Linked DNA regions of Homo sapiens: regions 2 and 3 are each linked to region 1. Evidence: promoter capture Hi-C in human tissues and cell types (Jung and others, 2019). All regions are on one chromosome and are shown on one strand. The core of a region is centred on a gene start or on the middle of the fragment in contact, and the rest is flanking DNA. Distances in the headings are between cores, read along the strand shown.

The links. The method cuts DNA at HindIII sites, captures the fragments that hold promoters and counts their contacts. A contact is called where the count stands out against the background at its distance.
Region 2: a fragment that was not itself captured here is called in contact with the fragment with the promoter of METTL24 in region 1 in 2 of the 25 tissues and cell types used here (dorsolateral prefrontal cortex and hippocampus).
Region 3: a contact is called between a fragment that was not itself captured here and the fragment with the promoter of METTL24 in region 1, in 3 of the 25 tissues and cell types used here (H1 embryonic stem cells, dorsolateral prefrontal cortex and thymus).

What each region holds. Positions count from the first base shown.
Region 1 is chr6:110,356,679-110,360,477 of GRCh38, forward strand. It overlaps METTL24 (methyltransferase like 24), which reads right to left and starts at 1,671. Exons shown (of 5, transcript NM_001123364.3): 1 at 1,277-1,671. The coding sequence starts at 1,594. The HindIII fragment of the contact is 11,777 bases long and covers 1-3,799 here.
Region 2 is chr6:110,115,197-110,118,995 of GRCh38, forward strand. The region is part of intron 4 of WASF1 (WASP family member 1); the gene reads right to left. Among named protein-coding and RNA genes, the nearest start is that of WASF1, 63 kb to the right of the region's middle. RefSeq lists enhancers at 750-1,295, 1,296-1,839. The HindIII fragment of the contact is 3,943 bases long and covers 1-3,677 here.
Region 3 is chr6:110,172,117-110,175,915 of GRCh38, forward strand. The region is part of intron 2 of WASF1 (WASP family member 1); the gene reads right to left. Among named protein-coding and RNA genes, the nearest start is that of WASF1, 5.7 kb to the right of the region's middle. The HindIII fragment of the contact is 5,240 bases long and covers 1-3,799 here.

The DNA of each region.
Region 1 (3,799 bases), core at 421-2,920:
AAAACTGTGCTGAATGTTTAACATGGTATCACGGACAGTGAATTAGGAACTTGGAGAGGAAGTGGCTGCTTTCTTCTGGAAGATCTAATCAAGACTTTACACAGGAGGTGAGGTTTGCGAGATAGAAAAAGGTATTTCAGTTTATCCAGGAAGTTAGCACGATGGCCCAGCAAGGAACAGCAGTGGTGTGGAAAAACGGAGGGCGAGGCCCGAAGGAAGCGAGGAAGTGAAGCCCGGCAGGAGTGCTGGGTTGTGGTGCTGAAAAGTAGGCTAGCACTGGGCAGCCGAAGACAGCAGCGAGGCAAAGGAAGAGTTGTTCCCTCCCCTCCAGGACCGGTGATGGGAAGCGGGGTGGAGGTTGGGGTGGATGTCTAAAAGAAACGAGGAACAGCCGGGCAACGGAAAGTAGTTGCTTTGGAGAACGTGGTTGAGGCTGGAAGCAGGAGTTGATGGGTAAAAGGATGAGGAGAGCTCATACCTGTAGTTCTTTTCATTTCCATGTACGACGCAAATTACCGAGCTCCAAAAAGGAGATGAGCCCAAAACCTTAACAATCAGAGGCTAAAAATGGACTAATCAGTGAGGTGTAAGCCAAGAAGTTAATGAGGTAGGAGGCACAACACGGTCGAGAGTTATAAGACAAACCCAGGTTATTACTTGGGTCCTCGAGGATCCAATTAACTTCTCATTAAGTGGGGCTGGGTGCTCGGCTTCTCAACTGGCGCCAGCCTCCCAGCCCCCAGCCAACGCCTGGAATGAGACTCCAGGGAAATTCGGCCAGCTGGTGGATCTTCAGCGAGATGAAGGCAGTGGCGTGGACAGGCCATTCACGGCGATACCCACCCAACTCTGTCCAGGCCTTAAGCAGAAGGCTGGGAGCAGCACAGCACATCAATGGCAGCCACAACGCCTTCCTTTCCCTTTCCCTTTCCCTGCCTATCACGCAAACACTCCCCTACTAAAGTGTATCCTCCGTGAGAACAGGGCTCCGTCCTTCTTCACGGGATGCGCGGAGCCTAGAAGGGCGCCCGGCCACGGCGACCCCCAAGTACTGGCTGAATAGTGAATGAACTCCGCTTGGCCGCACTTCAGTCTATCTGGGCACTGAAAGATGCGACCCGTGGAGCCGCCTAAGAGAGCACAGGGGGAAGAGAAGAAGCGGAAGCCTCCGGAGGTCCCATCGAGGCGGCCTGCGGGACCTGAGCGCCGGGCTCCGTAGCGCGGTCGGGAGGGGGCTTCTGGTCCCAGGCCCAAGACCGACCGCTTTGCAACTGACCTTCCGGCGGGGGCGCCCGCGCGGGGCACAGCAGCCAGGCTCCGGCGTCCCGCTCCCGCCGCCCCCCGGCGGCGCCCGGCGACCGCTGCGCACGTAGGTCACCTGCCTCCTGCTGGCGCCGCGCGGCTGGCCCGGCGCGGGCGGCAGGTGCGGCCCAGGTGGCCGCCAGGCCGGGCCCGGCGGGGCGCTGCGGGTGGGGGACCCGGGCCCGGCGCGCCGCAGCTCTGCGCAGAGCCGCAGGCCGAACAACAGCACAGCCCCGAGTAGACACCGGCGCAGGACGCCGCAGCCCCTCCCGGGCGGCCTCTCCCGGGCCATGGCGCTACACTCGGGGTCCCGCGGGCCGCGCCTGGCCGGCAGCAGGGATGTAGCCCCACAGGCCGGAGCGGCCAACTGTGGGAACTCCCCCGCGGGCCGGGGTGCGGGCTCGGACCCGCCTCCCTCCCTCCCGACCGAGGAAGCCCCGGCGTAACCTTATCCTGCCCTGCCGAGCGCGCCCCGCCGCTGGAACGGTGGTGGGCCGAACGCGGTCACAGGGGGCCCTCTCCGCCCCTCCGGAGGTGCCAGGGCCCGGCTGTACAGGGTCCCTCAAGAGGTGCCCTCCGCCCCGGCCTCCAAAGCCTGACGGAGCTGAAAGACATAGGGCCAGAAAAAGCGCATTCCTAACGGGATCCCGGGCCATAACTTCATTTTCTGGTATTAGTGTTGTTGGAGAAACACAGGAGGAGGGTAGGTGAGCATACAAGGAACAGTCAAGCAGTTTGCACCATTAAGCACAATATAAAAATAAATAGCACTTATGCCCGGGCTTACAACTTCTCTCTCTCTCTCAAGAAAGAAAGGGATTGGGGGGCGAAGAGAATAGCACTCAATGCAGAATAATCAAATTAGAGTTATTCTATGTCTAAATTCTGCCTGAAGCCAATTCGTGCTTTCTTTCCGTGTTATGAAATGTGTGGGGGTGAAGAAGAAGAGGGAAAAAGCCAGCTAAGACATCTGACAGCGGGTTGGTGAGGAGGGGGGAGAGAGAACAGAAGTTACCATGGCATGATGTAAATCAAATTAATTTAGCTCCAAACACACACCTCCCTGCTGTCTCGCAGAAATACAGAGGGACAAATTTATCTTTCGGCAAAATGCTCCCCAGCTGGTATTTCCATCACCACCTTGACCTTAATTAATCAGACTGAACTCTCACAGCCTGAAGTCCAGTGGTGGATGTTCCATTTTCAATTGTTAGTAGAATCCTTTCCCACAACCCATTTGGGGTGGGTTTGGGTTTTAGGTTTGAGTTTGGGTTTAGATTTTTTTAAGCTGTAGTCACTTTTCTTTTTTTCCTTGCTTTACTCTTGCATTTTCCATGCTTCCATGGGAGACTGCGCCTGTAGACCTATCCTCTTCCCCCGTAACAGCCTACAGCATGGACAAGAGAGAACAAATATGGGGCCCTACCCCCCTGCCCTTTTGAATGTTGGGTATTTTCCGTAGGAAGCCCTCGTCTCTAAAATCCTCTTCTCTTCCTGGCTTAAGAAAGACCCAATTTATTCCCTGCTAGTGAACAAAGCACTTGGGCTGTTTCTCTACATGTAACAAAATATCTCCACCCAGTCTAGTCCACCCCCTGGCCACACCAGATCCTCAGGCTCCTGAACGTTCCATTAGGATTGACTTTTGCTTTTTTCTTAGATGAGTCCAGGGGATATTGCAGATGGGTTCTATTTTAACAAATTTAAACAAGTACGAGTTTTTCCTTACACAAACTGAGAGCCAGCCTCACATCCTGTGACTATTTACTTGAACTGTGTTTGAACCAGGACCCTGCCGTTCAAGCACTATGAGACTTTCAACGAAGTACTGGACCTCTCTGAGTTTCCGTTTTCCCATGAATAAACAGATCTATATATATGGCAGGATTATAAATGTTGCATAAAATATTATATGTTTCATGCCCAAATAATACTGGCTCACAGAAGGGTCTCAATAGTAATTATTTTGTTATTTACCATGGAAGAAAATCCTGGATGTTGTCATGAAAAACAAAAGGTAAGCATTGATTCCAAAGTGGGCAAAGATAAAGTATAAGGAAATTTACAAATAATTTATACAGCATTCTCTGGAATTCAGAGTACCCAATAATTTCAAGAAAATAACAATTAATCATCAAGAAACGAACTCTGTTAAGTTGTATAAGGCTCTTTAAGACAGAGTTTGTAGGGTGCTTGATAAACCTGGATTGGTAATGTCTGATGTAGACTTTGCTGGAAGTTTTATTTTCTATGCAGTCAACACAGTGCCGCTAACTAGAGAAGTCATATTTTGAAGATCATGGTGCCACTAGTGCGTACCCTCTGCTCCTCTGTTGAGTTTCTCTCTGGGGGTGGGTGGGGAAGCATAAGCACTCTCCTATATTATTAAAATGGGGATATTTAATAAGACTCTGGGCTGGGGGTGGAGGATGGAGTGGGGGTGCATACAAAACAGTGTAGCTCTTGAAGAGAATGGGCAGGATGACCTCATATTTTC
Region 2 (3,799 bases), core at 456-2,955, 240 kb before region 1:
TGTCCTATTCCAGAAAAAAAAAAAACTGCTACAGAGGACATTTATTAGTAAGAAAAAGTGAACACCAGGATTTAAGGCAGGAAGGGACACACTAACTCTATTGTTTTGTGCAAATGCAGTCGGGTTTATCATCAGAACTGCCCTTATCTATAAAGCTGCTAACCTCAAACCTTGAAGGAAAAAGAAGGCCAAAAGAAGAAGGCAAGACAACAAGAAGGCATGGACAATGAGAATCCTTTTTCTGGATTGGTCCCATTGACGCTTTGTCCCTGAAGTCAGGAAGTACCTTGCCAGTAAGGGAATGTCTTTTAAAATTCTTGTGATAACTGTACAACATCTCTGGCCACTCAGAACCCCATTAGTTTCACACTGAAGGTGTCAAAGTGGTCCACTTGCCCGCAAACATGACAGCTCTAATTCAGGCTCTAGATCATAAGGACATTTAAGACTCATTACACATGGTATTCTGTGGAAGACTGTCAACACTATGGAAGAGAATCCCAACAGAGAACATCATGAAAGTTTGGAGGGATTATACCATCAAAGATGTCATAGTTATTATTGAAAAAGCCAAGAAAACCATCAAGCTCAAGAAAACAAATTCATAAAATTTGAGAAAACTGTGTCCAGATGTTTTGCATGACCTCACAGGGTTTTTAACAGTGCCAGTCAAGGAAATAATGAAATAGACAGTGGATACAGAAAAAAGGGTGGGGATGAAGCGTGGCAAGGTATGGATCTTGGAGAAATTCAAAACCCAATTAGACAGCACACCAGAGGAATTAACAGAAGATGACTTGATGGAGAAGAGTGCCTCCAAACCAGTACCAGACAATGAGAAAGAAGACATAGAAGAGGGGGTCACTTCCAAGACGGCTGAATAGGAACAGCTCCGGTCTGCAGCTCCCAGCGAAACTGATGCAGAAGACGGGTGATTTCTGCATTTCCAACTGAGGTACCTGGTTCATCTCATTAGGACTGGTTGGACAGTGGGTGCAGCCCACAGAGGGCAAGCTGAAGCAGGGCGAGGCATTGCCTCACCCAGGAAGTACAAGGGGTCAGGGGATTTCCCTTTCCTAGCCAAGGGAAGCTGTGACAGACTCTACCTGGAGAAACAGTACACTCCTGATCAAATACTATATGCTTTTCCCACAGTCTTAGCAACCAGCAGACCAGGAGATACCCTCCCATGCCTGGCTCGGCGGGTCCCACGCCCACAGAGCCTTGATCACTGCTAGTGCGGCAGTCTGAGATCAACCTGTGACGCTGCAGCTTGACGGGGGAGGGGTGTCCACCATTGCTGAGGCTTGAGTAGCTCAAAGTGTAAACAAAGAGGCCGGTAAGCTTGAACTGCTCAGTAAGGTCTATTCCCTCTATAAATTCCACCTCTTGGGGAAGGACGTAGTAGAACAAAAAGCAGCAGACAGCTTCTGCAGACTTAAACATCCTTGTCTGACAGCTCTGAAGAGAGCAGTGGTTCTCTCAGCACAGCGTCTGAACTCCGAGAACGGACAGACTGCCTCCTCAAGTGGGTCCCTGACCCCCGTGTAGCCTGACTGGGGAACACCTCCCAGTAGGGGCCAACAGACACCTCAAACAGGTGGGTGCCCCTCTGGGATGAAGCTTCCAGAGGAAGGATCAGGCAGCAATATTTGCTGTTCTGCAGCCTCTGGTGGTGATACCCAGGCAAACAGGGTCTGGAGTGGACCTCAAGCAAACTCCAACAGACCTGTAGCTGAGGGGTCTGACTGTTAGAAGGAAAACTAACAAACAGAAGGGACATCCACACCAAAACCCCCTCTGTAGGTCACCAACATCGAAGACCAAAGGTAGATAAAACCACAAAGATGGGGAGAAACCAGAGCAGAAAAGCTGAAAATTCGAAAAAAAAAACAAAGCGCCTCTTCTCGTCCAAAGGATTGCAGCTCCTTGCCAGCAAGGGAAAAAAACTGGATGGAAAATGAGTTTGATGAGTTGATAGAAGTAGGCTTCACAAGGTTGGTAATAACAAACTTCTCTGAGCTAAAGGAGCATGTTCTAACCAATTGCAAGGAAGCTAAAAACCTTGAAAAAAGCTTAGATAAATGGCTAACTAGAATAAAATGTAGAGAAGACCTTAAATGACCTGATGGAGCTGAAAACCATGGCACAAAAACTTTGTGACGCATGCACAAGCTTCAATAGCTGATTTGATCAAGTGGAAGAAAGAATATCAGTGATTGAAGATCAAATTAATGAAATAAAACGAGAAGAAAAGATCAGATAAAAAAAGAGTGAAAAGAAACAAACAAAGCCTCCAAGAAATATAGGACTATATGAAAAGGCCAAATATATGTTTGACTGGTGTACCAGAAAGTGATGGGGAAAATGGAACCAAGTTAGAAAACATTCGTCAGGATATTATCTAGGAGAACTTCCCTAACCTAGCAAGGAAGGCCAGCATTCAAATTCAGGAAATACAGATAACACCACAAAGATATTCCTCAAGAAGAGCAACCCCAAGACACATAATTGTCAGATTCACCAAGGTTGAAATGAAGGAAAAAATGTTAAGGGCAGCCACAGAGAAAGGTCGGGTTACCTACAAAGGGAAGCCCATCAGACTAACAGCGGATCTCTCGGCAGAAACCCTACAAGCCAGAAGAGAGTGGGGGCCAATATTCAACATTCTTAAAGAAAAGAATTTTCAACCCAGAATCTCATATCCAGCCAAACTAAGCTTCATAAGCCAAGGAGAAATAAAATCCTTTACAGACAAGCAAATGCTGAGAGATTTTGTCACCACAAGGCCTGCCTTACAAGAACTCCTGAAGGAAGCACTAAACATGGAAAGCAACAACCGGTACCAGCCACTGCAAAACATGCCAAATGGTAAAGAACATCGATGCTAGGAAGAAACTGCATCAATTAACAGGCAAAATAACCAGCTAACATGATAATGACAGGATCAAAATAAAACATAACAATATTAACCTTAAATGTAAATGGGCTAAATGCTCCAATTAAAAGACACAGACTGGCAAATTGGATAAAGAGTCAAGACCCATCAGTGTGCTGTATTCAGGAAACCCATCTCACATGCTCACATGCAAAGATGCACATAGGCTCCAAATAAAGGGAAAGAGGAAGATCTACCAAGCAAACGGAAAGCAAAAAAAAAAAAAAAAAAAAAAAAAAAAAAAGCAGGGTTTGCAATCCTAGTCTCTGATAAAACAGACTTTAAACCAACAAAGATCAAAAGAGACAAAGGCAGCTACTACATAATGGTAAAGGGATCAATTCAACAAGAAGAGCTGACTATCCTAAATATATATGCACCCAATACAGGAACACCCAGATTCATAAAGCAAGTCCTTAGAGACCTACAAAGAAACTTAGACTTCTGCACAATAATAACGGGAGACTTTAACACCCCACTGTCAATATTAGACACATCAAAGAGACAGAAGGTTAACAAAGATATCCAGGACTTGAACTCAGCTCTGGACCAAGCAGACCTAATAGACATCTACAGAACTCCACACCCCAAATCAATAGAATATACATTCTTCTCAGCATCACATCACACTTATTTTAAAACTGACCACATAATTGTAGTAAAACACTCCTCAGCAAATGTAAAAGAACAGAAATCACAACGAACTGTCCCTCAGATCACAGTGCAATTGAATTAGAACTCAGGATTAAGAAACTCACTCAAAACCGCACAACTACATGGAAACTGAACAACCTGCTCCTGAATGACTAATGGGTAAATAACAAAATGAAGGCAGAAATAAAGATGTTCTTTGAAACCAAT
Region 3 (3,799 bases), core at 692-3,191, 180 kb before region 1:
CAGTGTGGCGATTCCTCAAGGATCTAGAACTAGAATTACCATTTGACTCAGCAATCCCATTACTGGGTATATACCCAAAGGATTACAAATCATGCTACTATAAAGACAAATGCACACGTATGTTTATTGCGACACCATTCACAATAGCAAAGACTTGGAACCAACCCAAATGTCCATCAATGACAGACTGGATTAAGCAAATGTGGCACATATACACCATGGAATAATTAAGGCAGAAATCTATGAAATTGAAAACAGGAAATCAAGAGAAAAAAACAATGAAACTAAATGAAGATTCCTTGAAAATAACAAAATTGATAAATTTGTAGTTGTGTATTATGATGTACCACACAGGGCTTTTATTTTGGTTTAAAAAAAAATCAGTGCCACTATTCAAAATAGCAAAGATATGGAATCAACCTAAGTGTCCATCAATGGATAATTAAAGAAAATTTAAATGCAAACAATGAAATACTACTCAGCCATTAAAAAGAATGAAATAATCTCTTTTGCAGCAACATGGATGGAACCAGAGGCCATTATCCTAAGTGAACTAACTCAGAAACAGAAAGTCAAATACCATATTTTCTCATTTATAAGTGGGAGCTAAATAATTTGTATACATGGACATAAAGAGTGGAATAATAGATAATGGAGACTCTGAAGAGTGGAAGGATAGATGGTGGGTGAGGGGTGAGAAATTACTTAATGGGTACAATGTACACTATACTAAAAAGCCAGGCTTTGCCACTATGCAATATATCCATGTAACTAAACTGTACGTGTACCCTCTAAATCTATAAAAATAATTTTAAGAAGTGAGTGCTAGTCTTCATCCTCGACTAAAATATAAAATGCTTCACTGTTCCTCCCTTTTCGTTTAACCCTTTCACAATTCTCTGGCATAACCTGTAGCACATGCATGTTATAAAAATTTAGCAAATTTAACAAATTTAGCAAGATGTCCCTATTAAAACAACTAGAAAACAAACTTACTTTTGTAGCATAAGGTGAAAACATAACACACTTGACTTTTTTGGTAAAGGAATCAAACAAGTTATTCCATGCCCTGACACATAAGCTTTTCTTCTTTTCAAATAAGTTAGTCAATGTAACTTTATTGGAGTAGACCTGGCTAGGTTAGGAATAAAGAATGGCTACATGCTGGACTAACTACTATCAAGCACACCAAATTAAAAAAACAAAAAAACAAAAAAACTTTGCTGTCATCATCATCCAACAGATGTCATCACACCCAAAACCCACCTACTTAGAATTTCTTTAGGACCTTTAGTTTAAGAAATGGTACCTTTGCAGCATAAGGGAGTAGGAAAAAAATGGGACTTTGAAATCACACATATCTGTGCTCAAATTCCACCTCCATTTCTATTAGCCATGTGACCTTGAGCAAATTACTTGATCTATGAGAGGACTCAGTTTGCTGGTTGACAAGTACCACAAATACAATTCTAACAGTTTACGCAAAAAGGAGGACTTATGACAAAGGTAACTAGGATGTCTCTGGAACCCAATCTCAGGACCATGGACAAAGGAACTCAAATACAGTCAGGACTCTGTGCATCTGCTTCTTTGCACTCTTTGTTCTAGAAGCCCTGGCTTATCTAGCCCACAGGGCAAGAAACAAGGCCATTAACAGTTCCAGAGTTTTGTATCTCACAGCTTCAGCAACTGAAGAGAAAACAAATTATTCAACCTCTGGGCATGGAGGACCCAGGAAAAGTTCTGAGTGACTTGGCTTAGTAAAAAAGTGTCTAAAACCAGGCCAATAAACCACAGAAATGAACAGAATTGTGATTGGTATCTCTGGCCCCTTCCAAGCCAAAGTGATCTTTACAAAAGACAGATCTGATCCAGTAATTAACCCGATTAAAACTCTTCATGGCCTTCCCCAATAGACTTAAAATCCTTAACCTCGTTAAACCAAACCTCACGTAGGCCCTCTGCATAGTCTGGCTTCTGTTTACCTCTGCAACCTCATATCAAGTCACAATCCCTCTTACACTAAGCTTTAACTGTTTCACCTGTTCTTTGAATTCTCTTCCTTTTCCACCTAGCTAACTTCCACTAATCTTGCCTCTAAGAAGCCTCCCCTGACTCCCAGTGTAAATCCAGTTCCCTCTTCTTTTCCTTTACAGCATTCACCAAAATTTCTAAGTACAAATGTATTTGTTCAACACCTGTTTTTTACTATACTGTTAACTCCAAGAGAATAGAGACCTGTCCTTTTTAGCACCTACTTGGCCCTCAATAATTATGTGCTGATTATGAACTATGAATCACTGGTTTAACAAGGGGGACCCACTAAATGAACCAATTACAAATGAGGGGACAGTAGCAGGCAGGCAGAATTGTTATTATCAAGTTATTAAAATGACTGCTCCAACAGAAACTTATCAGTAAAAGGGGAGATAAAGCAGTTCTGAAACAATCTGGGCTTCCGCTAGGCAGAACAAACAACTTGTTCAATTCAGTTAACCTTTTTCTTCAATTAAATCCTTATAGGGCTATGATAGCAATTAAACAAGATAAATAATAAATGTGACAGCATCTATACAGAATCTTGTACATCTAGCAAGCAAGCAATGTCACTTCTTTTCCTTTTGGACCATGTTACACATTATTTTTGAATATCACTGATCTCCAAATAATTATTAAATACTCCAATGCATATGACAAAAATAGCTGTTTCATGACCTCTTCCCTCACAGCACCCTGATCTTTCCACATGGAACAGAATGACTTCTCTTTTATTCTGTAGTAATTGCATACACTCAAAATCCATTTAGCTTAAACCAAAAACAGGCACTGGGAACACAAAAATGAAGCAAAGCAAAACAAAACAACCAAACGCTTACAACAAAACTGTCCTCAAGGAGTTCACAGATTCACTTTCTCAATCTGCCTTCAGCTCCATCACATCCATACCAAAGCTCCATAGCACCCCAGGTAAGGCTGCTACAAATACAAGATGCCCCGTATTTTATGGGGCAATAATCCATCTTTATATCTTCATACTCCCACTTCATGACCTCATTCCAAAATTTTTTCCTTAAAAAAATTCTATGGAGACTGACTGGATATGATCTTTCTTCAAAGTATGAATAAAATCTACCCTGACTTTACCAATAGCTCAAAATAAGGAAACAAAGGAAACAATCCAAAAGAAAAATCCTGTTTCTTGACAGTGCTGGGAGTTTATTTTTAAAAATTAAAACAAACAAAAAACCCATCACAAAAATAACGCCTTTAAGAGACTAAAAAATCTTGCTTCTGAGAACAGGCACGTGTGAAAGGATCAAGACTACTTTCTTTTTCAGAGGTAGGTCCAGAAAGAAGAAATGTCCTCATAAGAGGGACGTAAGCGGTAACTTTAGGGAAAATGAACTCTCAGGAAAAAAAGGGGGTTACACCAAGCTTCGAAGTATCTTAGAATTTTATTTGTAGCTAAAACAGATCTCCGAAGTCATCTACTTCTACCTTTTCATTTTATAATCAAACATCTTGAGAAGTAAAGTCACGCAGAAGACTGCATTTCCTTCTAATTTTTGTCATGCCCTAACTTCTTGTCCCAGATAATGTAAGCCTATGCCACTCACTGAACTGAGAAACAGCCTCCTCTTCAAGTCCACTGGGTGAAAGAGAACAAGTTCCTAATAATGTTGTCATGTCTAACACAAGAGTTACAGATCCTAGCATTTCAGGGTACATCTGAAACTTATTTTTCCCATAGAAAGACTGTCATACAAATTATTATAGGTATTTTAATATACTTATGCTA